7 separate regions of the Homo sapiens genome follow, and all the other regions are linked to region 1. Evidence: promoter capture Hi-C in 16 types of primary human blood cells and fetal thymus (Javierre and others, 2016). All regions are on one chromosome and are shown on one strand. Each heading gives the region's core, a stretch centred on a gene start or on the middle of the fragment in contact. The rest is flanking DNA. Distances are from core to core; before and after follow the strand shown. Region 1 holds the start of DUSP4 (dual specificity phosphatase 4). Region 2 has its middle 34 kb from the start of DCTN6-DT. Region 3 overlaps DCTN6 (dynactin subunit 6). Region 4 has its middle 4.3 kb from the start of DCTN6. Region 5 holds the start of LEPROTL1 (leptin receptor overlapping transcript like 1). Region 6 overlaps SARAF (store-operated calcium entry associated regulatory factor). Region 7 has its middle 28 kb from the start of SARAF.

Region 1 (2,849 bases), core at 240-2,739:
AAAGGCATGGGGAGAGGGTGAGCTTGGGCGGGAGAGACCCGGCGGGTACCGGTGCCCTCGCTGCCTGGGTCGGGCTTCCACGCGCGCCCCGGAATGGAATACGCTACTCTGCAGCCTCCGAAACTGCGAGCGAGTCCTGTAACTCCCTTGCTCTGTGATTAATTCTCACTAACAAGACTTGGCAAGATGTCGGGCGAATGATTTTTGGCTTCTGCACGGTCCCCACCGCGTGCGTGCACAAACCCCCAGCCAAAAGCCGCCTCTGGGAAATTAAATGCAAAAGAGAAATGGGGATGGGGAGGGCTGCTACGTGACCAGGAAAAAGGGATGCCCAGAAACATGAATCGGACCCAGAGCTGCTGAAGTCCTTTCAAAAGGTCATTCTTTGCGGGTACATTTTCCAGGGTCCAGCTCCGCAACAAATGTGGACCCTGTCATTTCCTGAAAGGATAATTCACAACTATGCAAGATAGGGTGAAGACGTTTCCCAAACCCGAAAACCTTGTTTTTCCCCCGACCAGGGTTAAATAAACATCTTTTAGGAAGCGTGGACAGGAGCGCAGCCTGCTCTCCTCCCTCGGAACACCATTCCGGCAATTAATGCCTCCCTTTGGGTAGTAAAGCAACAAACCCCACACCTCACTCCGATCCTGGGCTTCGGGCGGGAGGACTTTCTCTTTCATCTTCCAAGCAGGGGGTTGCCCACGTTCTTGGGGAAGCTATAAAACTGATTTAATGGCTTTAGATGAAAATCGATCACGCTAATGCATACGCTAACGTCTCAGGAATCGCATATTCAGAAAGGACTGGCCGGGCCGAAAGCGCACGGGGAGTCTGGGGCTAGGAGGTGTCAGGCCCCGCTGGGTGGGCAGCAGCGCTCCGGTCCCCTCTCCACTTGGGTAACCGGGAAAAACCTACGGGGCTGTCACGCGGGGAAGCGCGAAGGTGCCAAGGGATGAAAGCTCAAACCCGAGCCCTGGCCTCCTCAGCCGGCTATTTCCTTTGGCGCCGCCCGCCTAGCGGCGGGGTGCAGCGGCGGCACAGGTGCCGGTGTCGGGCTGGAGGCGCGGCGCAGGCTGGGCCCGCGGGTAGACGGCGAAAGGCGCCGCGCGCTCCATTCACAAAGTCCGGGCGCTGCCCGCCGCTGGCGGCGGGTCGGAGGCCGCCTCCCTCTTCCTCTCGGCCTCGGTTTTATGAATGGGCCTGATGGCGAGCACCCGGCGCCCTGTTTACTCCGCTCTTTGTGACGTCGAGTTCCCGTGACCGGGAGCCAGCGGCCGCGCTCCATTCAAGCTCCGGGGAGGGGGTGGGAGGAGGGGCCCGGAGGGGGCGGGGAGTCAGCGCGGGGGGCGGGGGACAGCGCGGGGGGCGGGGGACGGCGCGGGGCCCGGAATGGAACGGGGCGGGGCCTGGCGGGGTAGTACCTAGCGCCCCCTCCCCCGGGAGCGCGGAGGAGCATTAATAAACCTCTAAGCCGAGGAGAAAACTCTGGCTGGGGCAGTGCGCTGAGCGCCGGAGGAGCGTAGGCAGGGCAGCGCTGGCGCCAGTGGCGACAGGAGCCGCGCGACCGGCAAAAATACACGGGAGGCCGTCGCCGAAAAGAGTCCGCGGTCCTCTCTCGTAAACACACTCTCCTCCACCGGCGCCTCCCCCTCCGCTCTGCGCGCCGCCCGGCTGGGCGCCCGAGGCCGCTCCGACTGCTATGTGACCGCGAGGCTGCGGGAGGAAGGGGACAGGGAAGAAGAGGCTCTCCCGCGGGAGCCCTTGAGGACCAAGTTTGCGGCCACTTCTGCAGGCGTCCCTTCTTAGCTCTCGCCCGCCCCTTTCTGCAGCCTAGGCGGCCCGGGTTCTCTTCTCTTCCTCGCGCGCCCAGCCGCCTCGGTTCCCGGCGACCATGGTGACGATGGAGGAGCTGCGGGAGATGGACTGCAGTGTGCTCAAAAGGCTGATGAACCGGGACGAGAATGGCGGCGGCGCGGGCGGCAGCGGCAGCCACGGCACCCTGGGGCTGCCGAGCGGCGGCAAGTGCCTGCTGCTGGACTGCAGACCGTTCCTGGCGCACAGCGCGGGCTACATCCTAGGTTCGGTCAACGTGCGCTGTAACACCATCGTGCGGCGGCGGGCTAAGGGCTCCGTGAGCCTGGAGCAGATCCTGCCCGCCGAGGAGGAGGTACGCGCCCGCTTGCGCTCCGGCCTCTACTCGGCGGTCATCGTCTACGACGAGCGCAGCCCGCGCGCCGAGAGCCTCCGCGAGGACAGCACCGTGTCGCTGGTGGTGCAGGCGCTGCGCCGCAACGCCGAGCGCACCGACATCTGCCTGCTCAAAGGTAAACGAGGGCTCCGGGCGCTAGCTGGAGTCGGGGAGATGGAGGGGGTCTTGGCGGCCTGCGCCTTATTGGCACGGGAAGGAGTCCCCGGCGTGATTCGTGGTTGCGGGGATCCCCGCGCGCCCCTTTGTGTGTGTTGGTGTGTAGGGGTTTGCAAGGTTTCTGTGCAAGTGCGAGGTTCAAGTCCTCAGGGAAAGTGCGGACGGGTTTCTCCGGTCACCTGCAATTCCGCACCGTCCTAGCGAGGCCCCGTTTATTGACATTAACGGTCCTAGCCTCGAGGATGAAGCGACTCCTCTGCGCGGTCCATCTTGAGTCCCGGGAACAGTTTCCAAGTACCACGGGGCGCGTGGGGACAAGATAGGCCTGTTGGTTTGGCGTGCTGGGGCCCTACACTGAGCCGGACCGGGAGAATCCCAGAGGTGGAGAAAAGGTGAAGAGGGGTGGGCGCCGAGGTACAATTGGCCTTGCCAGTTTCACTGAAAACAAGACCCTGGCAAATGCAGAAAGGGAGATTGGGTT
Region 2 (2,849 bases), core at 250-2,749, 840 kb before region 1:
CTATTTGCATTATGATAAAGTTAGAATGTAAAGAATGCCATCTGGGGCAGGGTGCTGTGGCTCACACCTGTAATCCCAGCACTTTGGGAGGCCAATGCAGGAGTATAGCTTGAGCCCAGGAGTTCGAGATCAGTCTGGGCAACATAGGGAGATCTCGTCTCTACAAAAAAAAATTTAAAAATGAACTGGACATGGTTGTGCATGCCTGTAGTCCCAGCTAATTGGGAGGCTGACGTGGAAGGATCATGTGAACCTGGGAGGTCAAAGCTGCAGTGAGCCATGATAGTGACACTGCACTTCAGCCTGAGTGACACAGTGAGACCCTTTCTTAAAAAAAGAAAAAAAAAAAAAGAATGCCATCTGGGATTCAATATGGTCATTTTTTTTTTTCTGATTACAAAGTCTACTGAACATAATGGCGAAAGTTCACGGGTTACAGCAACCAAAAGTGGAAGTCTTCCCTTTCATGCTAAGCATTTAAGCAAAATATATTACACATCTACAGCAGTGCCAGGTAGCCTTAAGTAAAAAAGGAACATATTTTAGGCACAGTTGCAGGATAAGCTGACAGACTTGAAATTGTTCTCTGAACAAACAAGTGTAGATACTGATATGGTTTGGCTGTGTCTCCACCTAAATCTCATCTTGAATTGCAACTCCCACAATTCCCACATGTTGTGGGAGAAACCTGGTGGGAGGTGATTGAATCATGGGGGTGACTCTTTCCTGTTCTGTTCTTGTGATAGTGAGTTGGTCTTGGTCTCAGTCTCACAAGATCCGATGGTTTTAAAAACGGGAGTTTCCCTGCACAAGCCCTCTTTTCTTGTCTGCCACCATGTGAGATATGCCTTTCACCTTCTGCCATGATTGTGAGGCCTTCCAGCCACGTGGAACTGTAAGTCCAGTCAACCTCTTTCTTTTGTAAATTGCCCATTCTCCGGTATGTCTTCATCAGCAGTGTGAAAACGGACTAATACAGATACATTAATGATGATTAAGTCCTAAAAATCTATTCTACTAAAATCAAGCACAGCTAGCCTACAGATAAGGGATGCCAAAGTATAATCTTCATAAAAAGAGGTTATTCATTTGAAAGTATACATGTGTCACTGACACTGAGGATATGTTGAGGCCCAGGCAATTCATTTCCTTATACCACTGTTTGGCAGCTCCTGGAACTATACTGCAGAAATTCTGATTCTTCTTCTTCTTCTTCTTCTTCTTCTTTTTTTAATAAAGATGAGGTCTGGCTGGTCTCAAACTCCTGGGCTGAAGCAATCCACCCACCTCAGCCTCCCAAAGCGCTGGGATTACAGGTGTGAGCTACTGCACCCGGCCATCCTAACTACGCAGTCAGAATCTGTAGTTGGTTGGTTAAAGAAAAAAGTCAGCTATATGGGGCTTCATAAAATTATTATATATATCTTCAAAATTTTATTTTTAATTTAAAATATAAACAGGTTTATCTACCCATCACTCCTTTGATGTCAGGATAAGACCTTTTCTTTGCGTGTGGGCCTGCTGATGCAGGCTGCACAGAGGACATTGATTAGCACAGCAAGAAGCATTATCAATTTCAGCTTTAGTAGAATGAGGACTCAAGACACTTGTGAAACAAAATGAAGGCAAAGTCCTATATTTTGACACTTTTCTCTCCCTCCCAAACATTCACGGTTGCTTTACCCACACCTAATTCCACAGCATTTTTTTCTTTAATAACACGTCTTTTATCAGGTCTTTCCCAAGTTTTCAACTTTTTTTCATAGAGATTACTCTCTTCACACTCATAATTGTTTGATTTTGGTAATATTGAATTAAATTACATCGTTATTAAGTACAACTTGCAAAAACAAGTTTTGGAACAAATACAACTGATTTTTTTTTTTTTTTTTGAGATGGAGTCTTGCTCTGTTGCCCAGGCAGGAGTGCAGCAGCACAGTCTTGGCTTACTGCAGCCCCCGCCTCCTAGGCTCAAAGAATTCTCCTGCCTCAGCCTCCTGAGTAGCTGGGATTACAGGGGCCCACTACCATGCCCAGCTAACTTTTGTATTTTTAGTGGAGATGGGGTTTCATCATGTTGGCAGGCTGGTCTTGGACTGTCCTCAAGTGATCTGCCCACCTCAGCCTCCCAAAGTGCTGGGATAACAGGCATGAGCCACCATGCCCGGCCAAATACAACTGATTTTTGGAAAGCATACAACTCAGAGAGAGCAGTGATTAGCCTACCAAGGAGCAGACGACTTCATAGTAGGGGAAATTTGGGTTCTGAACATCCGGCATTATTTTTCACCGAGAGCAGAGACTGGCTCAAAAGTCTGAACCATATAGGTAGCTAATGAAAGCTGAGTTAGTTTAAGAAATGGAAAATCTAGGCAGGCCATGGTGGCTCATGCCTGTAATCCCAGCACGCTGGGAGGCTGAGGCAGGAGGGTGGCTTGAGTCCAGGAGTTCAAGAGCAGCCTGGTCAACATGGTGAGTCCCTGTCACTGAAAATTTTAAAAAGGAAAAAAGAAAGTCTAAATTCAGGGACTTAGCACCAAACTTTCATGAAGGTGAGCAATGCTGAAACCCTGTGGAGAGGGATGCTGACAATGAAGGCTTGGGCAATCAATCCATTCTTGGCTGGGTCTCTAGTGGGCCTGACAATGATTCTCTTCTCAAAGCCTGAGCCTCCATTTGCATGTGTTTAGTGTCATGAACCTAGTCCCAGCTAAATGTTCTAAAATATTTAAATACAACACCCTTTAAAGGAGACAAGAAAGGAACTGCTCCTAGTTTTGTTTAATAAAGTATTAAAGTCTAAAGTATCCTTAAAATGGGTCAGAAAGAGCGATGGCTCATGCCTGTAA
Region 3 (2,849 bases), core at 160-2,659, 820 kb before region 1:
ATAAGTAGCCAGAGACACTAGATATTCTGCCGGTCATCAAGCTGTAGTTCTTGACAAGACAAGGATACCCCTGGGACCTGTGTGTTTCTTTAAAACTTATGAAAACAAGTGACAGTTTCATTTTTCCCTTTCAAAAATGACTAAGTAATACAAATTTCTTATATAAAGAACTCAAACAAATAAGCACACTTTTTAAAAATTTTTAAAAATTTTTTTCACAGAAGATACCAGAAGCACACATTTTTAAAAATTAAAATAGGCCAGGTGTGGTAGCTCACATCTGTAATCCCAGCACTTTGGGAGACCGAGGCAGGTGGATCACTTGAGCACAGGAGTTCGAGACCGGGCAACATGGCGAAACCCCATCTCTACTAAAACACAAAAATTAGCCGGGCATTATGGCGGGCATCTGTAATCCCAGCTATTGGGAGGCTGAGGCAGGAGGGTCACCTGAACCCGGGAGGCAGAGGTTGCAGTGAGCCGAGACTGCGCCACTGCACTCCAGCCTGGGTGACAAAGTGAGACTCTGTCTCAAAAAAAAAAAAATTAAAACAACCCCAAGTCCCATAAGATGTCTTGCACAATATTTAAAAAATAATATGTGAGCTATTTTAAGCAGGTATTTTATTTTATTATTGTTATTACTGTCTTTATCATTATTAATAATTATTAAACAAGTAACTGGAAAATGCCTGGTTAGAAATCTGAGGGCTGTGTCCAGAGAGGGAGAGAAAGCACCGCCGCATTTAGGTGAGACCAGTGATTTAGACACCACCTCCACCTGCTGGCAGCATTGCCAAACTACAGGTCCCAGTGTTAAGAGGCTGAAATAAAAGTTTGAGAAATGATCAGCTTTAAATTGTGAGGTGACAGCAAATGTCACGGGCAATAACTCATCAAATAGCTTCTCTCAACTTCTTGCGGGTCTTTTTTGGGCACAGACTGAAGTAGTTAGCATAAGCGTACTTCAGGATACATAACCGCTAGATTTTGGTTTGGTGAACTTTTTTTTTTTTTTTGGATACAGAGTCTCGCTCTGTCGTCCTGGCTGGAGTGCAGTGGCACCATCTCAGTTCACTGCAACCTCCGCCTCCCAGGTTCAAGCAATTCTCCTGCCTCAGCCTCCCGAGTAGCTGGGACTACAGGAGCCCACCACCACGCCCAGCTAATTTTTTGTATTTTAGGAGAGACGGGGTTTCACCGTGTTGCCCAGGCTGGTCTCAAACTCTTGAGCTCAGGAAATCCGCTCGACTCGGCCTCCCAAAGTGCTAGGATTAAAGGCGTGAGCCACCGCCTCTGGCCTGGTGAACTTCTTAAAGGAAGGCTGTGATTTCCGTGAATGATGCGGATAATTCTGCTTTGTCTGCGTGGTCTATTGATGGAGGTTGGGCAGCACAGAGCCCAGAGCCCAGCAACTCAAGCACCATAAGAAACAGCACACTGAAACGTGGCCACGGTTCACTTCATGCTTTTCTGATGCCATGAGCACTTTTATTACACCTAGATCAGGTCTGAATTCAACATAAAGTTTAAGGGTCTTGAGGTTAAAGTGCTTTAAAAATAAAAATCTGTCACCACGGAAAACATTGAAAGCCTGCTGTGAACCCTGGCGCTCCTTCTGGCGGGGTAGTTTGTGTATTTTCTTACTAAATGTGCTGAAGCCCTATTTGGCTTATCTGCTTGTTTGGAAAAATGTGTCTAGAGTTGGAACTGCCTTACTGGCTGATGAATTATTTTTCTAAATGGTTGGCTGGGCTTGGTGCCACATAGCCAGAAAGATATTCCTTGCATCCAATTTCCATTTCCCTGGTAAAGGACACTTTTCCTGTCTATCTTTGCCACAGAAAGCAATCTTTGTGTACATTTCCATTTGTCAATAAATAATTCAAAAGGCCTTAAGCTCTGTTTTTTTGACAACTAAACAATTTTCTTGAACTGTAAGCTGAAGTACCTGTAAGAGTGCTTTATAGGTGATAATTTCTCAAGTCAAAGCCACTGTTCTGCCTTACTGAAAAAGACTGCCGCAATGAAAGGGAGGCTTTTGGTCCGTATTAAAACTCTCCTAGAGAGACTAAGTAAGTGGGACAAAGTGCTTCCAGCACAAAACATTTCCACTGAGCCGAGTTCCGCCTTCACATACTGATGTCCTGACCAAGTTCTGTCCCGGCCTCTCGCCCTGTAATGGACCACGGGACGGTGCTTCAAGGTACCTTTCAGAAATGTTTTCAGCTCTCAAAATAAAGATTTACAGGAAATAATTCATGGGCCATGAATTAAGGCAGACTAACTAAAAATAGGCTTGATGCTATGAAACCTTATTTACCCAAATTATAATTAACAAGAGGGCTGTTACTTTTCCCAAGCTCTGTCTCTGAACAGCCTTGAATAAGGGGGTCAGGCTCCAGCAGAGCTTCAAGTCATAGGGTTTCTGGTTAAGGACCATACTTCCAAGCATCCAGCTAGTTTCTCTGAAAAAACAAATACCTGCTTTTCTAGGAAAACAGATCGGGTTTAAAGTTCCATTAGCCTGAAACTTAGCAAAGGAAAACATTACTTTCTTCCTGAAATATTTCAGAATGGAATAATTTGTAAAAGTATACATGACTAGAAGATGGAAAATTACACAAAACATCCTGAAAAAAATCTATGAATTAAACAACAGTTTATTGCTACTTAACTCAGATAAACTAAGTAAAAACAACAATAAAAGCCCTAAAATGAAAAATAAAGCAGGGTGGGGAGAGTTGTAATCAGATGACTTATCTCCACTCTTTGCTTTTATAATTGTATCTCCCAGGAGCTTTTTAATCTGATGCATTACATCAGAAAAATGAATTAATAGAAGCCAA
Region 4 (2,849 bases), core at 89-2,588, 800 kb before region 1:
TGATGTTGACTACAGGTTACTGAAACCACAGAAGATGAAACCATGGATAAGTGCGACTACTGTTATTTATAAACAAAGACATTTATTGCTCACAGTCCTAGAGGCTGGGGAGTCCAAGATCAAAGCGCTGGACATTCTGTGTCTGATGAGAGCCCTCATCACCTAATCACCTCCCAAATGTCCCACCTCTTAATTGCCAAGTAGTCAATAAAATATCAGATGTGAGGCTCGGCAGAGAGGACAGAACCTTGAAGGTATTATTTCAACATATGAATTCTGGAGGGACAAAAACATTCAGACCATAGCACCATCTAATCAAAAATAGGCTACCCTTCCTATTCTAATTATTTTCTCTGTGGGGTAAGGATTGCACTCATCACCAGCTATACTTACTTATCTTACCATTTCCTCCAAAGACTTAAGTTCCATGAAGTTAGAGCCATGTGAGTTTTGTTCCCACTCTTTACTCAGCACCAACCACAGTGCCTGGTGCATGGTTGATATTCCTCTAAACTTGTTGAATAAGTATATGAATGAATTTAGAGTGTTTTGTCACTGCCAACCATGTAAACACCTATCCATTTTCAAGCAATGTGTATTTATATTAATTTGAAAGACTTCTATGGCATACTTATAAAGGATCATTTTATCAGTATTAGGTACAGTGTCTAGGGCCTATAGGCTTTTTGGGGATCAACGAACTGTTTGAAACCTGAAAATAAAATGTACTGATTCCAGAATGTAAACCGTACAGGTAGGAATTAATTAATGCTAAGGCCAGGCACAGTGGCTCACGCCTGTAACCCCAGTTCTTTGGGAAGCTGAGGCAGGTGGATTGTTTGAGTTAGGAGTTCGAGACTAGCCTGGGCAACATGGCAAAACTCTGTCTCTACAAAAAATACAAAAATTAGCGAGGCATGGTGGCACGTGCCTGTAGCCCCAGCTACTTGGGGCCTGAGGTGGGAGGATCACTTGAGTCCGGGAGGTCAAAGTTGCAATGAGCCAAGATCATGCCAGTGCACTCCAGCCTGGGCAACAGAGCAAGAGCCTGTCTCGATAATAAAATAAATAAATGCACACATACTTTTTTTTTTTTTTTGAGATGGAGTTTCACTCTTGTTGCCCAGGCTGGAGTGCAATGGCGTGATCTCGGCTCACTGCAACCTCCACCTCCTGGATTCAGGTGATTCTCCTGCCTCAGCCTTCTGAGTAGCTGGAATTATAGGCACCTGCCACCATGCCTGGCCTTTTTTTTTTTTTTTTTTTTTTTTTTTTTTGGATTTTTATTAGAGACAGAGTTTCACCATGTTGGCCAGGCTGGTCTTGAACTCTTGACCTCAGGTGATCCACCTGCCTCTGCCTCCCAAAGTGCTGGGATTACAGGCATGAGTCACTGTGTCCAAACCCACACGTACATACTTAATTCAATGTCTACAAAGCAACTTTTTTCTTAACTAATCAACTGCAATTCAACTCTTCTATACCTAGAAATTATATTTGATGTGGGATTTGGTTTCATTCAATATGTTTAATATGATGTTATCTTATTTAGTTCCTTAGGGAGCCCTCTTCTTCCCTGTTGGGAATAGGCCCCCAAAATCTGGTCATAAACTGGCCCCAAAACTGGCCATAAACAAAATATCTGCAACACTGTGACATGTTCGTGATGGCCATGACGCCCACGCTGGAAGATTGTGGGTTTACCAGAATGAGGGCAAGGAACACCTGGCCCACCCAGAGCAGAAAACCCCTTAAAGGTGTTCTTAAACCACAAACAATAGCATGAGCGATCTGTGCCTTAAGGACATGCTCCTGCTGCAGATAACTAGCCAAACCCATTCCTTTATTTCAGCCCATCCCTTTATTTCCCGTAAGGAATATCTTTAGTTAATCTATAGAAACAATGCTTATCACTGGCTTGCTGTCAGTAAATATGTGGATAAATCTCTGTTCGAGGCTCTCAGCTCTGAAGGCTGTGAGACCCCTGATTTCCCACTCCGCACTCTATATTTCTATGTGTCTGTCTTTAATTCCTCTAGTGCCGCTGGGTTAGGGTCTCCAGGACCGAGCTGGTCTTGGCAAGTGGCGCCCATACGTGGGGGCTCAAACCCAGGTCGAAGAGTCATCAGAGCAATGGTTGGAGAATGTGGAGCTAAGCTGGAGGACACCCAAGTACTCTTAAAGCAATCCCCGTGGTGGGTAAGAAGGGGAGCTCAGAAGCATCAGGGTAACAATGGGACAAGTGTGGGCTCTGGTTCGTTCCACTTTGGAACCTTTTCACACTGATGATGAGGAAGGAGAGTATAACGAGATAACAGAAGAGGTTACAGAGGAGGTTTATTTGCCAGCTAAAGCTAAAGTGGCAAAGGAGGGAGAGGTTCATCCCTACCCTTCTGCACCCCCTCATTATTATTTTGAAGAAAAAGAGTGGCCTCACCCTCCAGATCTTTCTTTTCTGGAGGACACTGAGTGAAAAGTAGTTGCCCCAGTGACTGTTCGAGCAGCGCCTCCAGCGACCACTCTCAGTTCTATTCAGGCAGGAATTCAGCAAGCTAGACGAGAGGGTGATATAGAGGCTTGGCAGTTCCCTGTTAGAATACACCCACCTGATCAACAGGGAACTATTACAGCTACATTTGAGCCTTTTCCTTTTAAATTACTCAAAGAATTTTAAACAAGCTATTAATCAGTATGGACCAGGTTCTCCTTTTGTAATGGGACTGTTAAAGAATGTTGCTGTTTCCAGTCGGATGAGTCCTACTGACTGGAACACTCTTACTCGAGCTGGTCTAATTCCCACTCACTTCTTACAATTTAAAACTTGGTGGGCAGATGAAGCTTCCATTCAG
Region 5 (2,849 bases), core at 235-2,734, 740 kb before region 1:
CTCCTTCCTAATATAAAGATATTAGGCCAAGAGAAAGAAACATACTGACTCATAACAACCAGAAAATCCTGCTGAAATCAAAAGTGCAGTTCACCTGAGGCACCTTCATCAGTTTAATGCAGTATTTCCCTAGGTCTGGAGAAGTAAATTACAAAGCTATTTTCTTAAGAGACCCCCGCATTATTGACACTGAAGAAACAGGGAAGAACAGGGAAACGGGCAACATCCTAAAAACCACAGCAATTCACAATAACTGCCTTTCACATAAGGGTTTAGAGTCTATCATAGTTCAAAAGGAGATTACAAAGTATCCCAGTTGCTTAAATGACAAGGTTTTATATGGGAAATGAAATGTTTTCAGACATTGAAAATAAACAAGAAACAGTAAGACTGTGACCCTGAAAAAAAACTCGATTAAGTTTTCCTTAGAGAAGAAAAAATACAAAGAAAACCACTGCTCCCAAAGTTACCTGCTTCCTGCCTGACTGCCCTTCTACAGAGCGGCAGGTCAAGAAATCAATGTAATTAGTTAAGCAGTAGCTGAAAACTTTGCTTCTCATCACACTGACAACAAAACTACCTAACAGGTGGAACAAATGCAACATTCCTTTTTTTAAAAGAAAATACATGAATAAGCCAGTAGTTTTTCATTAAGTTGTACCAGTATTTTATCTTCTTAAAAAAAAAAAAGGAAAAAAAGAAAAATTTTGAAATTTGAAAAAGCCTCAGGGTGCAACTGCGGAGAGGGAAGAGAGCCAGGAGCACTTTGGGGTCGCCTACAGGATCAACTCTAGGGTCCAGACACCGCAGATGAAAATGCACCCGTTTCGGGAGCCTGTAAAGCCTCGGGCGCGGGCGGCCGGGGTGGACGTGGGGTCGAGGTTTCGGGCAGACCCGTGCAGCGCCCGCAGACCGCACTTGTGCCTTTCGGTGGGAAATGACTGGTTTTCCATAGCTGGCATCTCTAGCAGCCTCAGCCTTCTCAATCCCACGCTCTGCCTGCCTCTCTCTCGGATGCAAACTCCTGCAAAACGTGTGTGGCCGTCCAAGTCGCGACGGGACTCCTCACTGACCGCCAACCACTTCATATTTTGTCCGGGGGGCGATGGGTGGGAGAGAGGCTGCCGAAATCGGCAGAAAGTGGGGGCTGCGGGGCGAAGCCGGGGTCGCAACCGTCCGTTGCCCGAGGGCGCCGCGCCCACCTCCGGGCCAAGCGCAGGGCCGGGGCGGGGGTCGCTTCCCCGGCGCAGGGACCCCACGCGCGCGCGCGAGCCCGGAGGGGAAGTGCGGGGGCCGCGTGGGACCCCCGGCCCATCTTCCCCCGCCGGCCCCAGCCCTCCCGCGTCCTGCAACCCAGGCCCACCTTTGATGCCTGCCATGGCGGTGACGTCGCTCCTGGCTCCACGACCCGAGGCGGCGGCGGCAGCAGCGGCAGCCGGGAGACCCAAGACGCGCTACGGCGGCCAGACAACACCCGGAAGTGCGCGACGCAGCACTTCCGCCGGCGACTCGGGCTCGCGCGGGGGCGCGGGGGACGCGCCGGGCTGGGCTGTGGGGTCGACCCCCTGCCTCTCTTCTCCGCGGGTGTGCAGATCGCCGCCGGCCGAGGCTTGCCGCCGCCGCCCCGACTGGGGGAATGAGCAGGCGCCAGGTCTTGAATTCCTGTCAGGGCCGGTCTGGGGGCTCCCTGCTGAAGCCCCTGTCCCTGATCCCGCAACCTCCCGCGTGCGTTGGGAAGGGGTCGCGGGTAGCGGCCGTCCTTTGGATGCACGTGTGATGGCTTTTGGCTTAATTTCACATTGTTTTGTTTGTTTTTTGAGACAGGGTCTCTTTCGCCCAGGCTGGAGTGTGATCACGGCTACTGCAGCCTCGATCTCCAGGGCTCAAGTGATTCTCTCACGTCGGCCTCGCAGTAACTGGGACCACAGACATGAGCCACCATGCCTGGCTTTTTTTTGTTTTGTTTTGTTTTGTTTTTTGTAGAGACAGGGCGGGGTGTGAGACTCTCATCTTGTTGCCCAAGCTGGTCTCCTGAGCTCAAGGATCTGCCCTCCTCGGCCTCCCAAAGCGCTGGGATTACAGCTTGATACCCTACCTTGTTTTAACCTGATTGACTCGCTCTTAGCTGAGAGAGCGGGACAGACTCCATTTTGGTTTCTTCGCTTGCAGCACCTTGTCCCCCTCCCTTAAGGACATAACTGGTGCAGACTGACACCAAGCACATCCAGGAATGTGCTTACTGATAAGATACTGAGGCAAGCTGTACCAGCAGCTCCTGGGAACGCGCTCGGTTGATGGTACCCAAAGCCCCTGCGTTTATCTCTTTGTGATAATTTAAGCCCCATGCACCTGGAACTGTTTATTTTCCTGTAACTGTTTCTATAACCATTTATCTTTTAACTCTTTGCCTGTTCTGCTTCTGTAAAAATTGCTTCAGCTAGACTACCCCTTCCCTATTTAGACCAAGGTATAAAAAGAAATCTAGCCCCTTCTTCAGGGCCGAGAGAATTTTGAGCTGTAGTCGTCTCTCGGTCGCCGGCAATAAAGGACTCCTGAATTAGTCTCAAAGTGTGGTGTTTCTCTATAACTCGCTCGGTTACGACAACAGGTGTGAGCCACTGCGCACATTATTTTACTGCGCCTTTTCCTCTCTCCCTCCATCCCTCCATCCCCAGTCCTATAATTAAGGTTAGTTGGGTGGTCTGCACTTGGCTCCTTGGTTTCCTATACAGGACTAGGGTTCTGGTGAGGACCCACCTCCAGAGATAGGAGCAGCAGGGCTCAGTAAAGGGTGGATTTAATAGAAATCCAGTCCCTTGGGTGGCTGTCTTTTTGGTAGTAACAAGGCA
Region 6 (2,849 bases), core at 209-2,708, 720 kb before region 1:
GGATTCCTTTTGCTTTGCAGGAAGGCATACCTGTTTGAGGGTGAAGTGGATGTTGACTGAGCCAATCCACAGCATCTTCCATCAATAATCCACAACATGATAAATAGGAAGACTTTGTCCTTATTTTCCAATAATGCATAGAAATTCATTTTTTTTTTTTTTTTGAGATGGAGTTTCATTCTTGTTGCCTAGGCTGGAGTGCAATGGTGTGATCTTGGCTCACTGCAACCTCCTCCTCCCAGGTTCAAGCGATTCTCCTGCCTCACCCTCCCAAGTAGCTGGGATTACAGGCATGTGCCACCACTCCCGGCTAATTTTGTATATTTAGTAGAGATGGGGTTTCGCCGTGTTGGCTAGGCTGGTCTCGAACTCCTGAGCTCAGGTGATCCACGTGCCTCGGCCTCCCAAAGTGCTGGGATTACAGGTGTGAGCCACCACACCCAACCTAAAAATTTCATTTTTGCACATGAATGCCAGACATAATTTTATTGTTTTGACTCCTCCTTTCAAAGTCTCTTGTCAGTATGTTTTAAATTTTTTAGTTTGTGAAATAGTTTAAATAGTTTTGATTTTTAAAATTATGAAATACCTAAAGTATTTAAACATACAGAAGTGTACAATGAACCTACACATAGTCATCACCCAGTTTTATTGAATCTTTATATTTTGCCATATTTGCTACAAATCCCCCACTCCCAGTAATAAAACATTAGGAATAGAGCTAAAATCTCTTTTCTTTCTCTCTCCCTAGACTAGATACTTATTTGAATTTGGTGTTAAATCCTTCCCATACATGTTTTCATGTTGTTATTATATACATATATAGACATTAACAGTATGTAGTACTGTTTTGCCTTTTTTAAAGGTTTATGTAAAGCTGTCATACAAAACATTCTGCAACTTGTATTTTGTTTAAAATGTTTTTGCCATCTATCTAGTTTGATACATGAATTCTAGTTCACTCATTTTAACTGCTATGTAATATTCCACTGTAATAGGTCAGAATGTGTTAATTTCTTCACCTGTTGATGGACATTTAAAGCATTAAATGTGCTTCAGGAACATGCTTATATTCTTGCCATTTTAATTAACCACTATTATTATTACACAGTAGTACAATGTTTCAGGTTAATGAACTTTTTGTTCTTTTGATTTAGCAAAAATGATGTACAACTTGTGCTGTAGAAGCATCTGGCCTGAAATGCAGGGAGATCTTAAAAGTGTGACCTGAATTTTGTTCAGAAGGCCTGAATGTTGTTGGGATAGTTTTGAGAAATAGATTCATCCTCTCTTAGCCATCCTCAGAAGGCAAGAAAGGCATTTCCTATGACGAGAGTTTCGTTAGGATGAACCTTTCTTTCTCTGACACGATACTTACTTTGTGTTCCTCTGTTTTCTTGCTGTTTCAGACAGAATGTTGCTGCGGGATGTAAAAGCTCTTACCCTCCACTATGACCGCTATACCACCTCCCGCAGGCTGGATCCCATCCCACAGTTGAAATGTGTTGGAGGCACAGCTGGTTGTGATTCTTATACCCCAAAAGTCATACAGTGTCAGAACAAAGGCTGGGATGGGTATGATGTACAGGTAATATCCACTACAGTAATGGCAGTCTAAATGGGGTTTTTATTCAGTAAATTGTTTATTGGGACATTATTCAGTCTTTTGAGGGTGCACCTACGGAAATCTCAGATCAGCCTAAAATATGTAAGTAAATCAATCACTCTTCCTGTGGAAGAAATGGCCTCCAAAAGAAATGAACTGATTTTAAAGCCTGAAAATACTCATTTTAGTTTTTGTATCGTGACCTCCTTCTAAGATATTTGTAAATTTTCACAACTTTTTATATACTTGAGGGTGAGGGATAGGGGATATCTTATGGTTGTCATTTTCCTGTCGTTCCTCAAAGAATACCAACCTACCCTTAAGACAAAGTTAAGATAATTAGGAATTATAGATCGTAAATAGTAGGGGTTCATATATCTCTATTGTGCTTCTAGCACTTGATTTTAAAATTGTCTTAGAACTGAGGGTGGTTACTTTTGAAAGGAAGCATTTCGGCAGGTTTCATTGATTGCCTTTGGGACGCTGGTGTTTTGTATACGAGCAGAGCATCTCCTTGAAGTTCCAAAACTGAATATGCTTTAGAGATAGATTTTATTAAATGAATTCAGTTTAAATCACTAGTTACATATTTCTACTTTGTATTCTGACTGCTTTCAAAATTGATTTAAGACGACTGGTCACAAGGCAAGAAACTTATGTTGACGATTTCCCCTCTCCATCAGAATGATATTCTTGTTTGATACAACCTTTATGCGTGGTCTTTGCAATTCAGAGAGGAAGTTGATGTGTACTGGGTGATACTTACTTCACAATATTTTCCCCCAGTACTGCTAAGTTGAATCATAGAATTCTCTGGGTTATAGCAGAAGTCTCACTCCACTTTACTTATGACTTTTAGAGTCTTGATGGGAAAAAAAGGCAGTAATGGTGATGTCATTCATTAAGCATGTATTAATTGCAATATACAAAAATGAATAAGGTAGAATGAAGAAACTGTCTTACTAGTAGAAGAGGTAAGACAGGCACTCAGATTACATGTAGGTCCCAACACAACATTATAAAGTCACGTCTGGTTGGAGCCATTGGGACTTAAAGGATGAGACATTTGTGCTGTGTTAGGAAGGAATGATAACATTTTTAGAGAGGAAAGGCTAGAGAAGGGAATAGCATGAGCAAAGGAGTGTTGAGCATATCATACATTGGCTTATGTTTAGTAGCAGGAGAGAGGCCATTTAGTAGCAGGACAGAAACTCCTTCTATTCCAAGAGTTGAAATTTAAATA
Region 7 (2,849 bases), core at 254-2,753, 700 kb before region 1:
TTCTAGAGGACTTGTGTTAAGACAATTGGTGTGAAAGTTGTACAGGATGGAATTTTGGAATTGGACTGTTCAAGGAATCAGAAGAACTTGAACATCGACATCTTCCTAAGTCTTTCTTTCTGGCATAGCAGCCCCTTCCTTCTTGCTGAAGGGGATTAGCCTTCCTTGTCTAGAGACCATGTAACGGCCTCACCTGAAGCAGATGCCTTGTAAGATAGCATTTTTTCTTAAAACTGAGTCCTGCCACATCTCTGCCTCCAGGCCAATAACTAGAGTCAGATCTCAACCTTAACAGGGAAAGACAGTCCCTGCTTTGGGAGGAAATAAGCCACACAGCAAAAGAATGATAACCTCTTGGAATTATAGCACTTGCCTTGGGAGGAAATAGGTCACATACTAAAAAAATCATGGTACCATACAGCTAATATGTACCAGCGAGAGTAGGGATAAACCATGTGGAAATTCATCTGGAAGTTGGGCTGTGGGAGGGGTGAAATATGGTGGAAAGAGAAGTCCTTTATGTTCACCTGTGAATTGGGATTCAATGTTCTGTCAAAGACATGAGCTACTGGTTCTAATAATTTTCTGGGATGGTTTCTTGATGGATGATGATGGTTTCCTGATTGGATGTGATGATGCCTACCGTAAGTGAGGTAGAGATGCCAGACTTTCTATGGTATAGTATTGAGCACAGTATCTGAAGACTCAAGGAAGTGGGATGTTAGAATTTACTTATGAGACTGAATAATCCAACATTTGACTCTACTCTGAGGGTTCAGAGCATCTCCCTTTACCAAGGTAGTAAGGAAGGTACTGGTGAGAGAGTTATTAGCATTTTTAAGGGCTCAATGATAGTTGTCCTCTGTAGGCAAAGGTTAATAGTGGGAAATGCTGTCATGAAAATGGACTTCCCAAGATTAACAGAGATAGTGGGTTTCCGAAGTGGCAAATTGCATCTCTTCATTGTCAGAGCCAACCAAGGTGGATGGAATTCCATACAGGACAGCAAGTCAAGAGTAGCCTGATTTACAAATGGATCTGCATGATATGCTGATACCACCTGGAAGGACAGTGAAGGGAAGTGCCCTGAGGGGGTGGAATTTTGAGCTATGCATCTGAAATAAGAGATGGCAAGACATATGTATCTACACTTTTCAAAATAGACAGTGGTTTCTGGTTTGAATGGGTGACCAGGGGCTTGGAAAAATGAGACTGAAAAATTGACGATAAAGCTGGGCAAGCTGGCTCATGCCTGTAATCCCAGCACTTTGGGAGGCCGAGGTGGGCGAATCATCTGAGGTCAGGCATTAGAGACTAGCCTGGCCAACATGGTAAAACCCCATCTCTACTAAAAATACAAAAATTAGGCTGGGCGCAGTGGCTCACGCCTGTAATCCCAGCACTTTGGGAGGCTGAGGCAGGCAAATCACAAAGTCAGGAGATCGAGACCGTCCTGGCTAACACAGTGAAACCCTGTCTCTATTAAAAATACAAAAAATTAGCCAGGCGTGGTGGCACACACCTGTAGTCCCAGCTACTCGAGAGGCTGAGGCAGAAGAATCACTTGAACCCAGGAGGCAGAGGTTGCAGTGAGATGAGATCGTGCCACTGCACTCCAGCCTGGGTGACAGAACGAGACTCTGTCTCCAAAAAAAAAAAAAAAAAGAAAGAAAAATTGATAAGGATATCTGGGGGAAATGTAGATGTATGGTCCTCTCTTAACAAAGATGAGATTTTTTTTTTTTGTCCAATATACATGCTTACAACTACCTGAGTAGTAGAATATCACAGAAATTCTGGCATCTCCACCTTGCTTACTATAGGCATCATCACATCCAAGCAGGAAGCCATCATCCCTCAGGAAACCATCCACTCAGAGTATTAGGATCAGTAAGTAGTTCATGTCCCCGACAGAACGTTGCATCTTAAGTCACTTCATAAGATGACATTTTCTGTGGCTATTATTCAGCCTCTTTTTTTCAGCAAGCCCTACTCCTGTTTCATTGGCTCATAAACAAAGTGGCTAAGGTGGTAGGGATGAAAGTTATCCATCGATTCAGCAAAAGGGTCTTCCATTCACCAAAACCGATCAGGTTACAACCGCTGCTGAGTGCCCTATCTCCCAACGGCAGAGGCCAACACTGAACCCTGAATACGGTTCAATTCCCTGGGGAAATCAGCCCACCATCTGGTGGCATGTTGATTACATGAGACCACTTCTATCATGAAAGGGGCAATGATTTGTTGTCACTGAAGTAGACATTTACTCTGGGTTTGGATTGGCCCTTCCCACTCGAAAGGCTGTTGTTGAAACCATGATATGTAGATTTACAGAATGCCTTATTGTGTATCACAATGTTTCACATTGTTTCTAAGTAAATCATTTTCTAGTGGATGAAGGGCAGGATGGGAATAATGCCCACATAATTTATAGGAGTTCCTGTCTTCCCTGGATCCAGAAATAGTAAATCTTCATGATTTTGCTAGCTCTGTGATGCCTTCGGGAAGATGTCTTTTCATATTTTGCTCAGTTTTGTTAGTTTCCGTGTGTGATAGGATTGGTTCAAATCATCTTGCCCTCACAAACATAAAAGTGGAATTCCCTTACTGTAGATATTTGAAGACAGCTCTATTTTTTATTCAAGTTAAAAATCCAAAACACTCTCAATCATTTCTTACTTTACCTAGCTTTTGGATCCTCCACCATCTGGTCATCTACCTAGGTTTGATCATGTTTTTTTTTGTTGTTGTTGTTTTTTGTTTTTTAAATCCCCAGCACAATCTTTCCTTATTAAAGGAGAAAAGACACATTTCTTCCTTACATTAAAATATTCAAAATTATGAGTATT

What was found. Contacts are between HindIII fragments. The CHiCAGO score rates a contact against its expected background, and 5 or more counts as called.
Region 2: a fragment that was not itself captured here is called in contact with the fragment with the promoter of DUSP4 in region 1 in 1 of 17 cell types (total CD4 T cells); the score reaches 5.3 in total CD4 T cells.
Region 3: a contact is called between a fragment that was not itself captured here and the fragment with the promoter of DUSP4 in region 1, in 2 of 17 cell types (naive CD4 T cells and total CD4 T cells). The highest score is 7.4, in naive CD4 T cells.
Region 4: a fragment that was not itself captured here is called in contact with the fragment with the promoter of DUSP4 in region 1 in 3 of 17 cell types (M2 macrophages, M0 macrophages and total B cells); the score reaches 6.1 in M2 macrophages.
Region 5: a contact is called between the fragment with the promoter of LEPROTL1 here and the fragment with the promoter of DUSP4 in region 1, in 1 of 17 cell types (non-activated CD4 T cells). The highest score is 5.1, in non-activated CD4 T cells.
Region 6: a contact is called between a fragment that was not itself captured here and the fragment with the promoter of DUSP4 in region 1, in 6 of 17 cell types (M2 macrophages, endothelial precursors, fetal thymus and 3 more). The highest score is 8.3, in M2 macrophages.
Region 7: a contact is called between a fragment that was not itself captured here and the fragment with the promoter of DUSP4 in region 1, in 17 of 17 cell types (M2 macrophages, total CD4 T cells, naive CD4 T cells and 14 more). The highest score is 22.4, in M2 macrophages.

Annotation. Positions count from the first base shown.
Region 1 is chr8:29,349,324-29,352,172 of GRCh38, reverse strand. It overlaps DUSP4 (dual specificity phosphatase 4), which reads left to right and starts at 1,489. Exons shown (of 4, transcript NM_001394.7): 1 at 1,489-2,327. The coding sequence starts at 1,895. LOC124901924 (a long non-coding RNA gene) reads right to left here and starts at 1,199. Exons shown (of 2, transcript XR_007060876.1): 1 at 639-1,199. RefSeq lists enhancers at 572-681, 722-791, 1,490-1,989, 2,312-2,461, 1,990-2,491 and silencers at 982-1,121, 1,312-1,631. The HindIII fragment of the contact is 21,736 bases long and covers 1-2,849 here.
Region 2 is chr8:30,188,976-30,191,824 of GRCh38, reverse strand. No RefSeq gene overlaps it. Among named protein-coding and RNA genes, the nearest start is that of DCTN6-DT, 34 kb to the right of the region's middle. The HindIII fragment of the contact is 3,441 bases long and covers 1-2,849 here.
Region 3 is chr8:30,168,344-30,171,192 of GRCh38, reverse strand. All of the region lies in intron 2 of DCTN6 (dynactin subunit 6), which reads right to left. Among named protein-coding and RNA genes, the nearest start is that of DCTN6-DT, 13 kb to the right of the region's middle. The HindIII fragment of the contact is 6,372 bases long and covers 1-2,849 here.
Region 4 is chr8:30,150,621-30,153,469 of GRCh38, reverse strand. No RefSeq gene overlaps it. Among named protein-coding and RNA genes, the nearest start is that of DCTN6, 4.3 kb to the left of the region's middle. The HindIII fragment of the contact is 3,005 bases long and covers 1-2,840 here.
Region 5 is chr8:30,094,043-30,096,891 of GRCh38, reverse strand. LEPROTL1 (leptin receptor overlapping transcript like 1) reads right to left here and starts at 1,484. Exons shown (of 4, transcript NM_015344.3): 1 at 1,364-1,484. The coding sequence starts at 1,379. RefSeq lists a silencer at 1,177-1,636. The HindIII fragment of the contact is 3,733 bases long and covers 1-2,849 here.
Region 6 is chr8:30,072,616-30,075,464 of GRCh38, reverse strand. It overlaps SARAF (store-operated calcium entry associated regulatory factor), which reads left to right. Exons shown (of 6, transcript NM_016127.6): 2 at 1,410-1,588. Among named protein-coding and RNA genes, the nearest start is that of SARAF, 9.0 kb to the left of the region's middle. The HindIII fragment of the contact is 3,292 bases long and covers 1-2,849 here.
Region 7 is chr8:30,053,530-30,056,378 of GRCh38, reverse strand. No RefSeq gene overlaps it. Among named protein-coding and RNA genes, the nearest start is that of SARAF, 28 kb to the left of the region's middle. The HindIII fragment of the contact is 8,354 bases long and covers 1-2,849 here.